Regions from separate parts of the Homo sapiens genome. Here all the other regions are linked to region 3. Evidence: promoter capture Hi-C in 16 types of primary human blood cells and fetal thymus (Javierre and others, 2016). All regions are on one chromosome and are shown on one strand. The core of a region is centred on a gene start or on the middle of the fragment in contact, and the rest is flanking DNA. Distances in the headings are between cores, read along the strand shown. Region 1 overlaps ENAH (ENAH actin regulator). Region 2 overlaps PARP1 (poly(ADP-ribose) polymerase 1). Region 3 holds the start of H3-3A-DT (H3-3A divergent transcript).

Region 1 (2,986 bases), core at 448-2,947, 510 kb before region 3:
TGACAAAGAGAAAAGAGGTTGAGTTCTAAGACCTCGGTACAAAAGCCACTAATGCCACTGTCTAGCTGTGGGTCCTCGCATCACTACAGTAGTGACCTTCTGTAAGTGCCAATCTCATTTCTAAAACAAGGATAATACCACCAACCTTGTAGGGTTGTTATAAAGATGATTGGTTATGTATACGCCAGATTAAGACCAAGCACACAGAAGGTGACCAATAAATAGATCATTATTCCTGCCTCAGAATGGCTTTAATTTCTATGTGAGGACAAAGGTAGAAAGCTAGAACACTGCCGTGGCAGGTATAGCCAGCACTAAATGAAAGCTGGTCACCTCCTCTTCATTCTGCTCCTCTCCTCTCTCTACTTTGTCAGTTCAGGCCTCATCTTTCTCACCGGTATTATTACAACAGTGTCCTGAATTGATCTTCATGCTTGTAAACTTGCATGCTCACCACACTTGTCCTAAAGCACAAACTTGATCATATCAATCCTTTATTTAGCATCCTTCAATGACTCTTCACCACCTCCATGATAACATGCACACTCGTCAGCACTAGGCCCTTCCCAACCTTATCTCTTGGGATGCCCTGCTCCTGACCCCCACCACATAAATTCTCATGTCCAAGCCACATCATGGCATATTTGTTATTTCCCAATTGCTCCATGCTCTCATGCTTCCAAACCTATCTAGAATGTTCTATCACTGATGAGCCCTCCCCATTCTTCAAACATAGCTGAAACATCACCTTCTCTTCAAAGCTTTCCCTGACCCTAGAATTTTCTTTGGTATTCCGAAGGCCTTTCTTCACACTACATTCGCAAGCTGTATCCTAATTTTGCTGGCCTTGTTTCTGGCAGCTGTAGCCCGACTGTGACATCAGGCAAGGGACAGGCTTTATTTATCATTTTTGTATTATTCCCAGTGCCTAACACAGTTTATAAAAAATACGCTTTACTGAAAATATTTTTGTGATATAAGCTTAATATTGTTTGCATTAATATCAACAATCTGGAAGACTAAAAAACAAAACTGTCACTATAAAGTATTTCTAGAAACTACTGAGATTTTTTTAATCCTATTAATTCCAAACATAAAGAGATTTTTAAATGCTGTGATAAAACTCATACAAATGTACATACTGGAAGGTATGTCAGGCCAAATTATCATTAAAAAATGAAATCTCAATATTATAAAACCTCTAGAAAATTTCAACCATAAGGAAGGTATGACTTTTGACCATGTTCTCATGTTCAATAGATTAAAAAATAAAACCCAGCAAAAGTAGTCTTTTAGATAATGGTAAAATACTTATTTTGGGGTGTTCTTTTTGAAAAGGCATGCTTCATCTTGGCTGAGAACAAAAGCAGTGGGATAATCTTACTGGTTATGCATATAATTTTCTTTTTTTTGGATTTAAAAATTATTTCCTATTTTCAAATGATTTAAACCTTTTAAGAAAATAAAAGTTGGGCAAATTTGCCTCCACCAATTATCACAAAAATTAACTTTGTAGTTTATATAATCCATAACTATTACCTATAAAAATCTATAAATGTACTGGATAAATAATAGAGAAATCAAAAATATCACTTTAGGTAATACACCCATTTAAAATTGAATCCATTTCCATGGAGAAAGGAAAAAATACACTGTAGCATTTGGTATAAAAGGAAGAGCACTAATTCAGCTCTTTTTCAAAAATGTTAGAACATGTGATTTGTGTTTTTTTAACTTCCAAATATAACTCACTGTATTTAGCACCTTCTGTACTTTCCAGTATATTAGATAATTGCATACCAAGTTAAAAACAAAATAAAGGAAAACATTTCTGCCACCCACCATTTTCATTAAAAAAAGGAAATATCACACAAACACACAGAGCACCTTGTAAAGGTTGGTATGACTAGCCCCCCAGAAAGCTGTTTTTTATAAATTTAAAAAATTTGAGGACGTAGGGGACACGGAAGAAGAGGAAAGGAAAATTATGTGATTATTGGTTTTAGCACAAAACGTGAGCTAGTAATTTTCAAATTCAGTTCTAGAGAACCATGGAGGCATCTCAGTGGTTGCGGATCCGGAACCCTATATCAATCAGAGAAGCTCCATATTTTCTGTCCATTTATACACTGAACTACCAAAGATCTCATTTGCACAAAAATGTCCATAACTTTTTAAAGTCTGAAAATCACTGAGAAGGATTAGCCGATGACAACAGTGGATAATATTGATATTAGCACCTAATAAATAAAAATACAAACAGAAATGTTTAATATGGAAAAATGTTTTAACAAGTGGTAAAACATTAAGAAACAGGCAAGACTAATATTTGTAGTTGCTTTATCAATAAGTTTGTTCTGCTTCTCATCAGTTTTATCAGGCTACAGTTTGTAAAGGGAAGGGAGATGTAAGTTAAGCTTTTTCAACTTGGTTTTGGAAGAAAGACAGTAGATGATTTCAGCAGCCAATTGGCTGTGAATCCAAAGCAAAGATTTTTGGCAGGGTATGATCAAACTGAGAGGTGACATTATTGGGTATGTTTGTTTAGATAAAGGGGAGGTGGCCCATATAATGTTGGGGTAGGGTACATACCTTTTCTACACTGGAGAATCTGCGTAAGAAATTATATCTATTCCCAAGAACACTCCTGATTCTTTTTTTTTTTTTTTTTTTTGAGACAGAGTCTTGCTCAGTCGCCCAGGCTGGAGAGCAGTGGCACGATCTCAGCTCACTGCAAGCTCCGCCTCCCGGGTTCACACCATTCTCCTGCCTCAGCCTCCCGAGTAGCTGGGACTACAGGCGCCCGCCACCACGCCCGGCTAATTTTTTTGTATTTTTTAGTAGAGACAGGGTTTCACCATGTTAGCCAGGATGGTCTCAATCTCCTGACCTCGTGATCCACCCGCCTCAGCCTCCCAAAGTGCTGGGATTACAGGCGTGAGCCACCGTGCCCGGCCCTGATTCTTAACATCTTACTCTCTCCCAT
Region 2 (3,249 bases), core at 649-3,148, 340 kb after region 3:
TTGGGAGTCACAGAGGCAGCAAATGAATGATTTGACACTATGATTCCTCCCACCACACTCCACTGCCCGGCAGGAAGAGCTACTTAAAAATACACCAACTGTGATCTGACTAAAGTAAGGGAAGTCCCAAACATCTGCTTTTATAGAACATAAAGCTAAATGTCACACAGATGCAATAAGACTATTAAAACAGCATTAAAAGTAAATGTGCTGAATTTTTAGGATGGAGTTGCGGGGACAGGGAAAATACTCTGGAAAAGCAATGATAAGGTACCCCACTATCTCTCTCCACTGTGAGTGGCCTCTTTCTGGATGTGATGTATTAAAATGCACAGCTAAGACTATGGCAGCACAAGGACTCCTCAACATCAGCTTTCCCCTGGGTCTGGAATGCTCTCCAGCCCTGTTCAGAGCACTCCCTCAGATCTCCCAATGCTCCTTCCACAGCTCCCCTCACTAAGAACTATGCATTTGGTGATTATTTCATAAGGGCCTATCTTGCTATTCTCTAGCAACATGTCACAGAGGGCACGCAGTGTTTGCTTAGGGCTCCAAGTCAGATGGAACAAAAAAGGAAGGATGGGGAAATTCCTGCTGTAGAAGAGACAACAAATGGCATTTCTGAGAGCATACTCATGTTCCAACTCTCAAACGTTCCACCAGATCTCAATTAGGCTGCTGATACAGATCCCTAAGCATCTGGCTATCATGGAATATTTGCAATGGCCTCGACCTGGCTCTGCCTGCTTGTCTACCCCTTGTCTACCCTTCCTGTGCAATGTTCCAGTTACCCTTGTATAAAGAGCACAGGTAATGGCTATGGCACTTCTTCCTGGCTCTGCCAGGGGCCCCAGACCTGCTGCCCTTTGGTCTGGGTGCTGTCTCCCCCAACCACCGGCACAGTGCTGGACACCCTGGAGGTGCTGCCCAATGGTGCAATCACAGCACAAGCTTAGAGGACAAGAGCCTCAGCAGAAGCACCCCTGACCAAAGCAATGCTTTGCCCTAAACTCAGGACTGAGAATGATGTGGCAGAAAGGCACCAAACCAAGGTCACAAGACTATCGACTCCATTTGTTAGCTGCACAGCTGAGGCAAGGCACAGAATCTTTGGCTGTGCACCCAAGCAAAAACTGAGCACCTAACATACCAGGGTCCTCACCCAACCAGCAGCTGGTGAACTGGGTTCCCTTCTGTGCAGAACAGGCCATGCTACCTGTCCACCTAGGCCACAGAGAGAATGAACTGACCTCACTGCATGCCTCCGGGTGCTCAAACCCTCCCAGGACAGAGCAACTCAAAGGTCTACCGCCATCCTCCTCCCACCAAAATGCTGGAGGGCCCAGCTCATCCCTCCCAAGATGCCCCAGGCATGAGGGCTAAAGTGTCAGGTATCAGATACTCAGAGAACAATACTCCCATGTAAATGTAAAAGAAGGTATTTAAATTCAAGCAAGTGAAAAGGCTTCTTTCTTTTTGGCCTTCACCAGCTCAGTCTACCAGACCAACTTTAAATTCTGAATTAAAACTCTGAATCCACCCTTAATCACCATTACATAAAAATCACAGTTACTTTTAATAATAAAGAGTTTCTTTCACTATCAAGTATACCAAAGGAAAGCCCAGAATGTTGTTATTACTATTTTTTTTTTCAGACAGGGTCTGGGTCTGGGTCTGGGTCTGTCGCCCAGGCTGGAGTGCAGTGGCACTATCTCAGCTCACTGCAACCTCCACCTCCCAGGCTCAAGCAATCTTCCAGCTTCAGCCTCCGGAGTAGCTGGGACTTAACAGGCACGCACCACCACGACCCGCTAATCATTGCATTTTTTTGTAGAGACAGGTTTCACCATGTTGGCCAGGCTGGTCTCAAACTGCTGAGCTTAAGTAATCTGCCCACCCCAGCCTCCCAAAGTGCTGAGATTACAAGCATGCGCCACCAAGCCCGGCCCCAGAATGCTAAACTTGATCAGGTTCAGTTTCCTCCATCCGGCCTCCCCCACAGCTAAGCCTCCTCTAACTTCCTCCACAGCGGTGTTGTTCTAGCCTCAACACAGTCTGGACTTGGGTTTTGTTTGTCTTTCCACCAGAACACGGTACTCTGCCCACCTGTTAAGGCGCCTGGATGTCCCTTTCTCAGAATAACATTTAAAAATGCGTAATAAAAAGGCTCGCAAATGGCCAGTCACGGTGGCTCATGCCTGTAACCCTAGCACTTTGTGGGGCCGAGGTGCATGGATCGCTTGAGCTCAGGAGTTTGAGACCAGCCTGGGCAACATAGTGAGACCCCATCTCAAAAAACAAAACAAACAAAAAGGCTCGAAAAGGAAACACTGAGATAATTATCAAAACATTTGAAAGGTAATTTGGGTACAGTAACCCGTGAGCTTTTAAGCATTAAATAACAAGATCTAGTACAGCCTCTAATAACTGTGATTTTTGTAGCAATGAGAGTAAATTATATTTTGAAAAACTTCCAACTGTAAAGTGATATGAAAATATCTGTAATTATCACTGGTGAAAAAAAAATAGGGACTGCTAATATGCCTTTGCTTTGCTGCTTACATTTATGATTAGAGGAAATAATTTTATCTAGAGGTTAGTGGAGATGGAGATATCAATTTTTTCTTATCTAAACTCATGGACCTCTTGCCTTCTACCTACCATCCCACAGACCCTGGGTTAAGAGCTCCTGCACCAGGAGTGAGAACTTCATAACAGGCTGCCTTGTATATTCAAAGTAAGTTCTAGGTTCCTTAGTGGGCAACAAGGCTCTTCAAATTGTAGGCCCTGTCTACTTCCCTATTCTCATCTTTCTGCTCCACTTCTGTGAATTAACGACTCCTAATCAAGCTTCCACCCTTAGCTGGGTCATCTCGGACTCCTAGGCACACAATGCCTAGAGCACAGCTCCATCAGGTGGCATCCATCCTCTCTTACGGTAACGTTTGTTTACCAGTCATTTCCCGTTTAACCAAACTGGAAATTCCCAAAGGTGGATTCTGTGTCCTTAAAACCTAACAGAGTGCTTAGAACTTAAAAAATGCCTACCAAATAAGCACTGTGTGCCACGTACTGACTTAGGTATGCCCCGAGGACACCAAGATGACAGGCATATTGTGAAATAAGATAACGGAAGTACACCTGGCACTTGGGTATCCACTCGGTAAATGTCGCCCTCCCTTGTACTAAGTACTGAAAATCCACTGAGGGATATCTGGTCATTCCTAAAACACATTACAGCTCATGGAA
Region 3 (2,859 bases), core at 154-2,653:
AACAAAAAACAAGCAAAATAACTCATCTTGGCTTGAATTATAGGAAATTCTTTGCTGGCAGCTCGGTCCAAGCTGATTGCATATGTGCTTTTAGGATAGGATTAGAGATTGCATGTGTTCTGCACAGCAACCATGGACACTTAACATTCATGAAATAATAATGAAACGGGAGGCCTGGATTTTTGTCTGTTTGTTTCTCCTAGGTCTCTTCCTCACTTAAGTGACCTTGGACAAATCCATTTCTTCCCTCGTATCTGATTTCCATGTATCTGTTTCGGGATAATGTTTATCACTAAGCCGCTTTGTGAGATCTTCAGATTACAAATAATTACTGCCCTTCATTTATGAAATTTTCCTCCTTCACTACCCTACGGGATATTTGCATGACCCTTCCATTGAAAACCTTTACACACAGTTGTGAAGCGTCAATACCATCTAGGGACGGTTCAGAGGTTCCAAAGCCAATCAACTGACAAGTCGTGAGGATAACTTGGGCCATGAAAAGTCCGTTTCCTATGCTACTGAGAATTGGAAAACAGGTATATGTACTAATTCCCAAACCACGTTTGCCTTCTTTCTGCCGTTTTCAGCCTCTTCTAAACTATGCAGAAGCTGCGGACATTTGACTATCTATATTCGGCAATTCCTTTCCAAAGCAATCCTACCGAAAACAGATCACACGGCCCCCACGGGCGGGCAGGACAAGCCACCAGGCCCTGGTGCAGGAGCTGCGCGCTCCACACATTGTTTAGAGGCCGACGCGACACAGCCATCTTGCGTCGGGGGCCCGGGCCCGGGAGGAGAGCGAGCCCCGTCCCCTGATCCCGGAGGCCAACACCGGCGAGGGGCTGCCCTGCACGCAGGCGGCCGGCCCAGGAGTCTTAGCGGATCAAGTTGTCTACGGCGGACTCGGGCCGGTCCCGCAGGACCCGGCCGCACTTGGCCGAGCGCGCAGGCGGGAAGGAGGCCGTCGGTCCGCCCCTCCCGCTGCCGCAGCGGCCAGGTCCGACAGCGGGCGCGGGACGCTGGATTCCTATTTGCCAGCTTCCTGCTGGGGAGCGTTTTCCAATGGGGCGCGGCGACCCGGCCGACCGCGTCCTCCTCCCCCACTGCCGCCCGGGTCTCCTCGGGGGCGCGCGCCGGGGCCCGCGCGGGGGCAGCCCCTCCCTCCCCTCCCCGCCGCGGCCCGAGACGCCCGCAGGCCGGGCGTTCACCCGCCGCGCCTCCGCCCGCCTTCCCCTCCCCCCACTTCCCTCCGGGCGCCCCAAACCCGGGCTTCGGGGGTTCGACGCCGTGCGCACACGGAGCGGGATGGGAGTGCAGGGCCGGGGGCGGGGGCTGGCCGGGTGCGGGCGGCAGTCTCGGCGGGAGCCGGCGGCCCCTCAGCGTGTCTTTTGTGTTTGTACACACACGGCGCGAGGCGGCCTGGAGGAGGGAGCGGGCGGCGCGCGGGGGAGGGGCGAGCGCGCGCCAGCGAACGGGCGCGCGGGGGGAAGGGCGGGGGCGGGGCGCGAGAGGAGCTATGGGGGCGGGGCCGAGCCTTCCCTCCATTGTGTGTGATTGGCTGGCGCGCGGCGCGGGGGCGGGGCGGCGTGTGTTGGGGGATAGCCTCGGTGTCAGCCATCTTTCAATTGTGTTCGCAGCCGCCGCCGCGCCGCCGTCGCTCTCCAACGCCAGCGCCGCCTCTCGCTCGCCGAGCTCCAGCCGAAGGAGAAGGGGGGTAAGTTTCCCCGTCTGCCCGCTTCCCCGGAACCGAGCCCCGCTTGCCGTCAGCCCCGAGCCGGGCCCTGGCGGTGCCGGGAGGGGACCCATAGCCCCTCCGGCTTAGCCCACAAACTTTTTGGCCCAGAAATGGAGGTGAGGAGCGAGTTTCCCTGTTCCCTCTGGCGGCGGCGGCTCCCCCGTCTCTCGCCGCCTCAGCCCAACAGCAGCAACCGCCGCGGCGCCGAGCCTGCTCTCCCTCCTCCTCCCCGCGCCCCTGGCTCCTCTTTCTTCGGTGAAATCCCGCCCGCCGCCCCTTCCCCGGACCCCAAACCTTCACCATGACCCGCGCGGGCCTCTTAACTACCGCCCCCGGGCCCCAGCCCCCAGTTTTCGAGCGGGAAAGGGGTGGAAATCGCCGCCGCTTCGCACCCTGGGGTAACTCGCTTTTTGCTGCCTCCCCACAGTTGTTGCTAAGCTTCACCATCTTGTCTCTCTTCTCTGGTCACCGACCATATTTTTTCCCCCGTTTCTCTCTTCCCCATTTCAAAAAAGCAAGAATTTTTAAAAGAGGGACGTTTTTTTCCCTTTTTTGGAGAGGCGGAAACTTGATGCATTTGAAATGCAAAAAAAACTTTTGCATTTTGGAGGGCGGCACGTGGCAGGGGATAGGGGTATTTTCGAGCGATTTGGTGTTTTGTCTCTTTGGAACGGAATCGGATACGTTTTGCGATTGTTTCCATTTTGTTCTGGTCGGGGAGCCGAGTTGGTTCCTGCTCGAGGCGCTGGGAGCGAGGCGGGCAGGTTGGGGGACCCTGTGCCGAGGGACCCGAAGGAGGCAAAACCAAAAGTTTATGTGGTGCTTGGGGTGGACCGGTCGGCGGATGTCGTGCGTTAATTAAAGCCTGGGTGCGGGGCACTTTTTATTTCACTGCGAAGCCTGTGAGGACTGGACGCGAGGACGGGGCTTTGTAGAATGCTCGCTGGTGGTAGCTGTTGTTCCTCTCTTGTTTTTTCGAGACGCCTTTTTGTCAACATAACTGTAAAGATGCAAAACCAAGAATATTTTCAGATATTTACAGCAATCCATCAACAGTCAGACGAAGGGGGGGCAGCCAAAGTGGGGGGGAGTAAGACCTTTTTTTTGCTGTAATTTGA

Evidence for each region. Contacts are between HindIII fragments. The CHiCAGO score rates a contact against its expected background, and 5 or more counts as called.
Region 1: a fragment that was not itself captured here is called in contact with the fragment with the promoter of H3-3A-DT in region 3 in 2 of 17 cell types (non-activated CD4 T cells and naive B cells); the score reaches 7.7 in non-activated CD4 T cells.
Region 2: a fragment that was not itself captured here is called in contact with the fragment with the promoter of H3-3A-DT in region 3 in 2 of 17 cell types (total B cells and fetal thymus); the score reaches 6.3 in total B cells.

The regions. Positions count from the first base shown.
Region 1 is chr1:225,549,481-225,552,466 of GRCh38, forward strand. All of the region lies in intron 3 of ENAH (ENAH actin regulator), which reads right to left. Among named protein-coding and RNA genes, the nearest start is that of LINC02765, 83 kb to the left of the region's middle. RefSeq lists an enhancer at 1-12. The HindIII fragment of the contact is 1,436 bases long and covers 980-2,415 here.
Region 2 is chr1:226,403,658-226,406,906 of GRCh38, forward strand. All of the region lies in intron 1 of PARP1 (poly(ADP-ribose) polymerase 1), which reads right to left. Among named protein-coding and RNA genes, the nearest start is that of PARP1, 2.8 kb to the right of the region's middle. RefSeq lists enhancers at 1-172, 3,001-3,060. The HindIII fragment of the contact is 1,899 bases long and covers 950-2,848 here.
Region 3 is chr1:226,061,092-226,063,950 of GRCh38, forward strand. H3-3A-DT (H3-3A divergent transcript) reads right to left here and starts at 1,404. Exons shown (of 2, transcript NR_185887.1): 1 at 1-1,404. It overlaps H3-3A (H3.3 histone A), which reads left to right and starts at 1,625. Exons shown (of 4, transcript NM_002107.7): 1 at 1,625-1,720. RefSeq lists silencers at 744-1,593, 1,180-1,345, 1,964-2,033. The HindIII fragment of the contact is 4,693 bases long and covers 1-2,177 here.